Linked DNA regions of Homo sapiens: all the other regions are linked to region 1. Evidence: promoter capture Hi-C in human tissues and cell types (Jung and others, 2019). All regions are on one chromosome and are shown on one strand. Each heading gives the region's core, a stretch centred on a gene start or on the middle of the fragment in contact. The rest is flanking DNA. Distances are from core to core; before and after follow the strand shown. Region 1 holds the start of SLC25A2 (solute carrier family 25 member 2). Region 2 overlaps PCDHGA1 (protocadherin gamma subfamily A, 1). Region 3 overlaps PCDHGA1 (protocadherin gamma subfamily A, 1).

Region 1 (3,524 bases), core at 682-3,181:
TCAAGCACCACATGAAGATGTTTCAAAACTTGAACCGCCTAATGTAGTGCGCATGTTAAGCAGACTTTAAAAGAGATCCTGGCCGGGTGCGGTGTCTCATGCCTATAATCCCATCACTTTGGGAGGCTGAGCTGGGTGGATCACCTGAGGTCAGGAGTTCGAGACCAGCCTGGCTAACATGGTGAAACCCCATCCCTACTAAAAATACAAAAATTAGCTGGGCATGGTGGCGGGCACCTGTAATCCCAGCAACTCGGGAGGCTGAGGCAGGAGAATCGCTTGAACCAGGCAGGCAGAGGTTGCAGTGAGCCAAGATCATGCCACAGCACTCCAGCCTGGGCGACAGAGTGAGACTCTGTCTCCAAAAAAAAAGAAAAAAAGAGAGAGTGATCCTAAGTAATCATTCATACCTATCTTCACAAAATATGGTCAATTCTGGGTTTGGGGGGCTGATATTTGAGATTATATATAGAACTAAATTGTTTCACTCACGACATAGAATCATCCAAACTGCATGTACACACAAATGGCTTTATGCAAAGGCCCTGACAGAACGATATTTAGTTTTTCAGATTAGGTACATAGGGCCAACCAGCCCACCCTGTACATTCCAGCAAGTGCAAGAGCAGCAACTTTCCTATTTCAATACAATTATGGGCAGAAATTATATGATGTAAAATAGAGGCCCTTCCATAAAGTTAAGATTTAGGGTAGAAGAAGGGAAGATAAAACCAAAATTCCCATGAAGTCAAAATTAGACAGTGGTCTTGTACTCTGCTGAACCCTGTGATGAACTGTAGTCCTCAAACTCATGGACTCGGATCCAGGTTCACCAAGACACTTCAGTATGCTTCCAACTGTTTCATCATCATCTTCCTGCTGTATTCGTAGGCCACAAACAGTGCCCCATTGGCAGGGATTGCTCGAATCATAGTAGCTTTCAGTCCAGAATATAAGGCTACTATTCCTTCATTTCTCACAACACTTAAGAGGGTACCAATAAATCCTGCCTGTTTCCCATACATGGAAAGAACTTGAATTCTGGATTTAATACAATCCACTGGGAACACGACAAGCCACAGGCAAATTCCAGCAACTCCACCACTTAACATCAAATGGACAGGGCCTAGTTCATCTTTTGATCTCCCTGACGCAAAAAACGATCGGCTCAGTTCATAGCCACCAAAGAAAAAGAAATAACCCGGTACTTCTTGAAGTAGAGTACTCGAGAGTCCATGGTAGAAGCCCAAGGGGCCATCCTTTTTAAGGATACCCTTCACGACAGACCAAATTGTATTATGGCTTTTTGCTATCTTCCCTGACATCTCCATTTCATACATGGTCTGTAGCCGGCACTTCACAAGCTCAGTGGGGCAGAGAGCCAGTGCAGCAAATGCAGAGGCGAAGGACCCCGCGGCTGCAGTCTGGAGATCACTCAGCTTTGCCTGCTTGTCCATTCCAGCCACTTTCCTGACAAACTGCTGGCAGAACCCGTAGCACATGAAGAGGACCGAGTTTTCGGCGACGTAGGCCATAAGTGCCGGGCCGGTGCCCTTGTAGAAGCCCCGGAGACCCACTTGAGCGTATGTCTTCAGGAAGCAGTCGGTGAGGCCCTTGTACAGGTCAGGGAACGTCTGCATCTTCACTTTTATTGTGTCGAAGGGCTGCCCAGTCAGTACACACGCTGTCCCCCCTGCGGCCCCCGCTGTGAGGTCGATGGCGGCTTGGATGCCAGGACCGGACTTCATGTTCGCTCACTCGTCTGAGGGTCCCAGTGGAAGGCGACTAACTCCCCAGAGCGTGAGACCGGCTTTTCACGTCCAGCCGCAGCGAGCGCGGGGAATGGAGTTGGGGGTGGTGGGGTGGCTCTACCGCCTGTTCTGGGCTCTCACCCCAGTGCGGGGGAAGCCGCTCAACCCTACGCTCCGCCGCGGGCCGCCCCCTCCCCGCGCACTAAAATAACCCCCAGCTGCCGGCCCAGCGCGCGGCTCACTAGCGTTCCTGCGGCTCCTGGCGCACTGGCCGGGCCCCCAGCCGCCTCCAGCCTGGAGCCGCCATCCCTGCACCCGCAGGCGGGGGACGCGGACCGAATAAATACTTTTAGTGTACTGCGACTGGGCGCGGTGGCTCACTCCTGTATCCCAGCACTTTGGGAGGCCGAGGCGGGAGGATCGCTTGAGCCCAGGAGATCGAGACCAGCCTGGGCAATATGGCAAGACTCCATTTCTACAAAAACGAAAAAATACCCGGGCGCGATGGCGCGCGCCTGTGGTCCCAGCAATTCAGGAGAATGAAGCGAGGATCGCTTGAACCCGGGAGGTCGATGCTGCAGTGAGCTATGATCGCACACTGCACTCCAGGGTGGGCGAAAGGGTGAGGCTCTGTCTCAAAACAAAACCAAAACCAAGAAAACATGTAAAGCTTTTCGATAAATTCTTGCAATTATGGCCGGGAACTCTAGACGCCGCAGTTCAGCTGGCGGCAAAAGAAATGCTGTCCTAATCAGTCAGCCCTGCTTCTTTTCTTTTCTCTCTTTTTTTTTTTTTTGACTTAGGGTCTCACTCGGCCGCCTAAGCTGGAGTTCAGTGGCGCGATCCTGGCTCACTGCAGCCCCAATCTCCTGGCCTCAGGCGATCCTCTCACCTCAGCCTCCTGAGTAGCTGAGACTAGAGGGACTACAGGCGCAAGCCACCACATCTGGCTAAATTTTGTATTGTACAGACGGGGTTTCGCCATGTTGCCCAGGCTAGTCTCGAACTCCTGAACTCAAGCAATCCACCCACTGGCCTCCCAAAGTGTTGGGGCTTACAAGCATGAACCACCACACCCGGCCTATCCCACGCTTCTTACCATGCAAAAAACAAAAACAAACAACCCGAAAAGAAGATGCCCTCACTTGAATAGACCCTGAATTCAGAGGGTCAATCTACAAGAAAACTGCTTTAAAGTAGATAAGACAGGCCAGGTGTGGTGGCTCATGCCTGTAATCCCAACACTTGGAGAGGCTGCGGAGGGAGGCTCATTTGAGCCTAGGAGTTCAAGGCTAGCTTGGGCAGCAAAATGAGACACCCCTTACCCCCTACAAAAAATAAAGTAGAGAAGACAAACTGTCAGAGGCGCTGGAACCACAGCAACTCCATCTTGACTAGGGACTGAGTAAAATAAGGCCGAGACCTACTGGACTGCATTCCCAGGAAGACAGGCATTCTAAGTCACAGGATGAGATAGGAGGCCGGCACAAGATACGGGTCACAAAGACCTTGCTGATAAAACAGGTTTCAGTAAAGAAGCCAGCCAAATCCCACCAGAATCAAGATGGCATAATAAGTGACCTCTGGTCGTCCTTACTGCTCATTATACGCCAATTATAATGCATTAGCATGCTAAAAGACACGCCCACCAGCGCCGTGTCCACTTACAGATGCCATGGCAACAATAAGAAGTGACCCTATGTGGTCTAAAAAGGGGGAGGAATCCTCAGTTCCGGTAACTTTGGACCCCTTTCCCAGAAACCTCATGAATAA
Region 2 (3,524 bases), core at 405-2,904, 160 kb after region 1:
TGGATATTTTATCCCAGACTATGACTTGTCTTTTCATTTTCTTAGTTGTGTCTTTTGAAGAGCAGAAGATGTAATTTTGATAAAGCCCAATTTATTTTTTCTTTTATAGTTTGTATTTCTTATGTCCTATTCAAAAACTCCTTGCCTACTGAAAACTTATGATGATTTTCTCCTATATTTTCTTTTAGAAGTTTTATAGTTTTACCATTTATAATTTGGTCTATGAATCCTTTTGAGTTGATGTTTATGTATGGTGTATGGTGTGAGGTAACAATGAAGATTCATATTTTTTTCCAAAGGAATATCCAATTGTCTCTTTGGAAAAATATGCTGAGAAGGCTATCTTTTCCCCACCAAATAATCTTAGCACCTTAATCAAAAATCATTTGGCCATGGACATATGTAGGTGTGGGTTTTTTCTGGGCTCTCTGTGTTAGATGGATAGATAGACAGATACAGATATATAACTGTGTTTACACATATGTAACTGTAAACACAGTTATATATCTATATATCCACCAACAGTTGAATGAGAATAAACTATTGTTATAAGCATATATACACATTGTATATATATGTGTACATATACATATTGCATATGTATGTATACATATATACACACAAAGTATATATATGTATGTATACATATATACACACTTAAAGTAATGGCCTCCAGTTCGATCCAAGTTGCTGCAAAGGACATTATTTCATGCCTTTTCGTGGCTGAGTAATATTCCATGGTGTATATATATATATGTGTGTGTGTATATATATGTATTATGTATATATATATGTGTGTGTGTGTGTGTGTGTGTATATATATATATGTGTATATATATATACCACATTTTCTTTATCCACTCATTAGTCGATGGGGACTTAGGTTGGTTTCACATTTTTGCAATTGTGAATTGTGCTGCTATAAACATATGTGTCCAAGTGTCTTTTTCATATAATTACTTATTTTCCTTTGGGTAGATACCCAATAGTGGGATTGCTGGATTGAATGGTAGATCTGTTTTTTGCTCTTTAGAGAATCTCCATACTGTTTTCCATAGAGGTTGTACTAATTTATATTCCCAGCAGCAATGTGTAAGTGTTCTCTTTTCCCCACATCCACACCAACATCTATTGTTTTTTGACTTTTTAATAATGGCCATTCTTGCAGGACCAAGGTGGTAGCTCGTTGTGGTTTTAATTTGCATTTTCCTGATGATTAGCGATGTTGAGCATTTTTTCATATGTTTGTGGGCCATTTGTATACCTTCTTTTGAGAAATGGCTATTTGTGTCCTTTGCCTACTTTTTAATGGGATTGTGTTTTATTTTTCTTGGTGATTTGTTAGTTCCTTGTAGATTCTGGATACTAGTCCTTTGTCAGATGTGTACTTTGCAAAGATAATATTTTGGATGTTATATTTCCATTATAATTTAGTTCAAAGTATTTTCTAATACACCTTGCAATTTCTTCTTTGACCCATGGATTATTTTAAAGTTTGTTATTTTGTTTGTTTATTTTGAGACAGAGTTTCACTTTTTTTGCCCAGGCTGGAGTGCAGTGGCACAATCCCGGCTCCCAGATTCAAGCGATTCTCCTGCCTCAGCCTCCCAAGTAGCTGGGATTACAGGTGCCCACCACCACACCCAGCTAATTTTTTTTTCTTTTTTTTTTGAGACAGAGTTTTGCTCTTGTTGCCCAGGCTGGAGTGCAATGGCACGATCTCGGCTCACTGCAACCTCTGCCTCCTGGGTTCCAGCAATTCTCCTGCCTCAACCTCCTGAGTAGCTGGGATTCCAGGCATATGCCACCACGCCAGGCTAATTTTGTATTTTTAATAGAGACGGGGTTTCTTCATGTTGGTCAGGCGGGTCTTGAACTCCCGACCTCAGGTGATCTGCCCGCCTTGGCCTCCCAAAATGCTGGGATTACAGGCATGAGCCACTGCACCCAGTCCAATTTTTTGTATTTTTAGTAGAGATGGGGTTTCATCATGTTGGCCAGGCTGGTCTTGAACTCCTGACCTCAGGTGATCCGCCTGCCTCGGCCTCCCAAAGTGCAGGGATTACAGGTATGAGCCACCATGACCAGCCTAAAGTGTATTGTTTAGTCACCAAATATGTAAGTATTACCCAAATATATTTGTCACTGATTTCTAATTTAATTGTATTGTGATCCAAAAATATACATTGTATAGTTTCTATTCTTTTAAATTCGTTAACATTTCTTTTATGGCACAGAATATGGTCTATCTTGGTGAGTGTTGCTTACACACAACTGTGTAACTGAAAACTGTGTATTCTGCTTCTCGTGGTTGTTGTATCCTATAATTGTCAACTAGATCAAGTTAGTAAGAGTGTTGTTCAGTGATCTTTTCTTCTTCAGTGTTTACTGTATTTGCTAATCCCATCCAGTGAAGTTTCCATTTCATATATTGTATTTTTCACTTTTAGAAGTTCCATTTGACTCTTTCATTTCCATCCTCAATTATCTTCATATTTTTCTTTAAATTTTTGAGCACATTTATAATGGAGGTTTTAAAGTCCTTGTCTGCTAATTTTGTCACCTCTGTAATTCCTATGATGATTTTCTTCCTGGCTTGGGGTCATAATTTGTTGCTTATTTGCATGTCTAATAATGTTTTTATTGGACAGCAGACATTGTAAATGTTATATTTTTGAGTGTTTGGATTTTGTCTTTCTTTAAGAACTATTGCAGTTTGTTTTGGAAGGCTATTATGTTTTTTGCAGATCAGGTTGATCTTTTCAAGGCTTGTTTTTAAGCTTTGTTAGGACAGGTCTGTAGTAACTTTTGCCTTGGGCTAATTTAGACCTACCACTTAATTCTGACTTTTTTGATTAATCTGAGTGTTCAGCAGGGTCTCTTTATTATGGCTAAATGAAATTCAAACATTTTCCAGCCCTATGTGACCATCAAGAATTCAGCTAATAGCTCCCTGGCAGTTCTTCGCCCAGCTGCAGAAAAGTGTCAGTGCACTCTATGTATGCTCAGATTATTATTTAGCCAAAGACTTGGGGATCCATATTAATATTCCTGGAGTTCTTTGTGTAGCTCCATTCTCTTTAGTACTCTATCCCATAAATTCTGGCTGCCTCAATCTCCTAATCTCCCCAAACTCTAATATCTATTCCTCAACTCAGCAAAACCATGGTGTTATTCTTGGATTTCCCCTTTCCTGCCCCACAGTCTGAAAGTTGTCTCCAGGCAAAAAAAATGGAGATCCTAGTTTGCGGATCCTCATTTCCTTCTCCTTTTTTTTTTTTTTTTTTTTTTTTTTTTGAGATGGAGTCTCGCTCTGTCACCCAGGCTGGAGTGACGTGGCGTGATCTCGGCTTACTAGAAACTCCGGCTCCCGGGTTCATGCCATTCTCCTGCCTCAGCCTCCCGAGTAGCTGGGACTACAGGTGCCTGCCACCATGCCCGGCTAATTTTTTGTATTTTGTTTAGTAGAGACGGGGTTTCACCGTGTTAGCCAGGATGGTCTGGATGACCTCGTGATCTGCTCA
Region 3 (3,524 bases), core at 497-2,996, 140 kb after region 1:
TCAATGAATTATAAGGCTGATGACAAATGAGCAAATTGTATCAGTTTTCTTTATGACATGTAACAGAGTATAGCTGTGATCATGAATTGGATAGTTCTGGTGTAAAAATCTGCTTTATCCCCATATAAGATGTCAGGTTCAGAAAAGCAAACACATAGTTTCGAAGAGATGTTGATCAAACTGATGAGGCTAAATCTCAAGAAAGAGACACAGTTACCCTCTAATGTTACACTTTGAGTTCACCTTTTTTTTTTTTTTTGAGACAGAGTCTCAATCTGTCGCCAAGCTGGAGTGCAGTGGCACTATCTTGGCTCACTGCAACCTCTGCCTCCTGGGTTCATGCTATTCTCCTGCCTTAGCCTCCCGAGTAGCTGGGACTACAGGCACACGCCACCACACCCAGCTAATTTTTGTATTTTTAGTAGAGATGGGGTTTCACCATATTGGCCAGAATGGTCTTGATCTCTTGATCTTGGGATGCACCCACCCCACCTCAGCCTCCCAAATAGCTGAGATTACAGGTGTGAGCCACCATGCCCGACCACTTTGAGTTCACTTTTAAGAAACCATACTTAATGGAAAATTACCAGTAACAGGGCATACTGTTTAGGATGCATTCCTAAAATATTAATGGCAAAAGATAGCCAGCCTATGGCAAAGCTAATTGGAAAAAATATTTTATAAAGGATGAGACTTCTGGATACCATATGGGAAGGGCTCTGGTTCAGGAAAATGTTTTTAAAAAACTGTCATTGAAGAGACCATAGAATCAAACAAAATAATTTAATCTGTATGTAAAAGAAGTTGGTACCACCATAATTTTTCTTATACATGTCATATAAGGATCTACTCTGTGTATTGTCATTGAGGGCAGATATAATTTCTTAGTTCATCATTAACTCTCTGAAGTATTTCACACAGTAGTTTGTACACCTTCTAAGTACTCAATACAATGCTTGAGTTCAATTATTGGAAAGTGGTCTCTTGGAGAAAAAAGAATCATAGTGCAAAACCAATTATTTTACATGGACTTTTCCTCTATATCTAAGCCCTAATAAGAGGCAGCTGTCTGATATACATACATACATACATACATATATATATATATATATATATATATATATATATATATATATATACACACACACACACACATATATGTATATATATATTTGGAGTAGGGGATGGAGTCTTGCTCTGTCACCCAGGCTGGAGTGCAAGTGGTGTGATCTCAGCTCACTGCAACCTCTGCCTCCTGGGTTCAAGCGATTCTCCTGCCTCAGCCTCTCCAGTAGCTGGGATTACAGGCGCCTGTCACCATGCCCAGCTAATTTTTTAAAATATTTTTAGTAGAGACAGAGTTTCATCAAGTTGGCCAGGCTGCTCTTGAACTCCTGACCTCAGGTGATCCACCTGCCTTGGCCTCCCAAAGTGCTGGGATTATAGGCATGAGCCACCGCACCCTGCCAACTGTCTGACTTATCTTAAAAGGCTAAGGACCTGGTTTGTTTGTCAAATTTTGAAAATAGATGCCTCAGTTCATAAGATTTCCATATTGTGTGGCAGGCGCCTGTAATCCCAGCTACTCAGGAGGCTGAGGCAAGAGAATCACTTGAACCCGGGAGACAGAGGTTGCAGTGAGCTGAGATCACGCCACTGCACTCCAGCCTGGGCGACATAGTGAGACTCTGACAAAAAAAAAAAAAAATCCATATGTGAAAATTCTTAGAAGCTTCCTATACAATTTCAGCTGAAGATTCAGCCAACAGTTCATTCTGAGACTGTGTTCCATGGAAAAAGTAAAGCCCAGGCATGGAAGTGGGAATGGAAAGAAAGATTCTAAGCCTACAAATACTCAAACATCAAGAAGAAATAAAAATAAGTCATCACTTCGACTTCATGTGCTAACATCACTGAGGTTATAAATTCCCAGGAATATTTTATTGCGGGAGCAAGACTGCACTGCTGCCTTTCAGCTTGCAAATTCCAGTGAGAAACGTCTTTCTCTCTGCTCTCAACTAACTCTACAGAACGCTGTCCTCTCATTTCTTCAGGCTGCAGTTCTAGAGTAGGGACTCAGAGTGCCACTGTTGGCCAGTCTGGAAACAGAGATAAATGAGCCAATCCCCAGACATTCCGGCTTGGTGGCTTTTCTAATTTCATGGAATGCAAATCCAAGAGCAGACCCACAACATTCCTATTATGGCTCCTAGTTCTACAAATTATAAGCAGGAACGGAACGGATTTACAGGCAATGAGTTCAGCTCCTTCTTGGCTGGAGATTCTATAATCCAAGAAGAGTTTGAAAAGGGGCTTATTTGGGCTGGAGCAGCAGCAACTCTAACTGTGGAAAAGGTGGGGAATGGTGCTGGACTGACAGTCTGGGTAGAACCAAGGCGACTACTGCCTCCTTTCCTGCTATTTCTATCCTGCTGGGCATTCTCTATGATGCAGATCCGTTATTCAGTCCTAGAGGAGCTGGCCAAGAGTTTGGTGGTGGGAAACCTTGCCAAGGATCTGGGACTCAGTGTCGAGGACATGCCCACTTGAAAGCTTCGGGTTAATGCTGAGGAATAATACTTCATTCTAAGTGGGGAAAGTGGAGACTTACTTGTGAATGACTGAATGGATCAGGAGCAGATACGCCCCCCAATTATAGCTTGGGCCATAACGCTTTGAAATAGTTGAAGGCCAGGCATGGTGGCTCACACCTGTAATCCCAGCACTTTGGGAGGCCGAGGCGAGCAGATTACGAGGTCAGGAGTTCGAGACCAGCCTGACCAACATAGTGAAACCCTGTCTCTACTAAAAATACAAAAATTACTGGGCATGGTGGTGCAGGCCTATAATCCTAGCTACTCGGGGGGCCGAGGCAGGAGAATCGCTTGAACCCGAGAGGCAATCGCACCACTGCACTCCAGCCTGGGTGACAGAGCAAGGCGCCATCTCAAAAAAAATGAACAAACGGTAGTTGAAAATTCTTTAAATGTTTTTCACATTAATATGGAGATTCAGGATATGAAGAATCATGCACCACGGTTCAGCAGGAATGTTATTAAGTTACGTATCTCTGAGTTTACCCAGCTGGAACAAGATTTGCAACAGAACCTGCAGAAGATCCTGATGTTGAGAGAAATTCCTTACAAAATTATCACCTTAGCAGCAACTCTATATTTCTCTTTGAAGTAAAAGTGACCAACAGTGGAAAGACATATGTTGATCCTGTGTTAGAGAAGCTGCTTGACTAGGAAAAGCAGAGCTCCCATCCCTTAGTGCTAGCAGCCTTAGACGGCCCCCCAACAAAGCAGCATCACTCAACTCCTGATCCTATTGGTTGAAGCCAATGACAACCCTGTGTTCATCTAGGATGTGTACAGCGTCGGCCTTCAGGAAGATGTGCATCCGGGCACTCCTGTGCTGAGAGTGAGGGCCACCAACCAGGACTAGAGTGTCAAGGCAGAGATCACATATGGCTTCACAACCCAGAGTACCCATATCTAGTTTGGCCTTGATCAAATAGTGGA

The links. Contacts are between HindIII fragments. The study calls those that stand out against the background at their distance.
Region 2: a fragment that was not itself captured here is called in contact with the fragment with the promoter of SLC25A2 in region 1 in 9 of the 25 tissues and cell types used here (H1 embryonic stem cells, aorta, dorsolateral prefrontal cortex and 6 more).
Region 3: a fragment that was not itself captured here is called in contact with the fragment with the promoter of SLC25A2 in region 1 in 2 of the 25 tissues and cell types used here (fat and pancreas).

The regions. Positions count from the first base shown.
Region 1 is chr5:141,302,118-141,305,641 of GRCh38, forward strand. SLC25A2 (solute carrier family 25 member 2) reads right to left here and starts at 1,932. Exons shown (of 1, transcript NM_031947.4): 1 at 518-1,932. The coding sequence starts at 1,748. The coding sequence ends at 843. The HindIII fragment of the contact is 6,230 bases long and covers 1-3,524 here.
Region 2 is chr5:141,460,170-141,463,693 of GRCh38, forward strand. The region is part of intron 1 of PCDHGA1 (protocadherin gamma subfamily A, 1); the gene reads left to right. All of the region lies in intron 1 of PCDHGA2 (protocadherin gamma subfamily A, 2), which reads left to right. The region is part of intron 1 of PCDHGA3 (protocadherin gamma subfamily A, 3); the gene reads left to right. The region is part of intron 1 of PCDHGB1 (protocadherin gamma subfamily B, 1); the gene reads left to right. It also overlaps PCDHGA4, PCDHGB2, PCDHGA5, PCDHGB3, PCDHGA6 and PCDHGA7, and 10 more genes. Among named protein-coding and RNA genes, the nearest start is that of PCDHGC3, 14 kb to the right of the region's middle. The HindIII fragment of the contact is 8,589 bases long and covers 1-3,524 here.
Region 3 is chr5:141,437,498-141,441,021 of GRCh38, forward strand. All of the region lies in intron 1 of PCDHGA1 (protocadherin gamma subfamily A, 1), which reads left to right. The region is part of intron 1 of PCDHGA2 (protocadherin gamma subfamily A, 2); the gene reads left to right. The region is part of intron 1 of PCDHGA3 (protocadherin gamma subfamily A, 3); the gene reads left to right. The region is part of intron 1 of PCDHGB1 (protocadherin gamma subfamily B, 1); the gene reads left to right. It also overlaps PCDHGA4, PCDHGB2, PCDHGA5, PCDHGB3, PCDHGA6 and PCDHGA7, and 11 more genes. Among named protein-coding and RNA genes, the nearest start is that of PCDHGA12, 8.8 kb to the left of the region's middle. The HindIII fragment of the contact is 5,098 bases long and covers 1-3,524 here.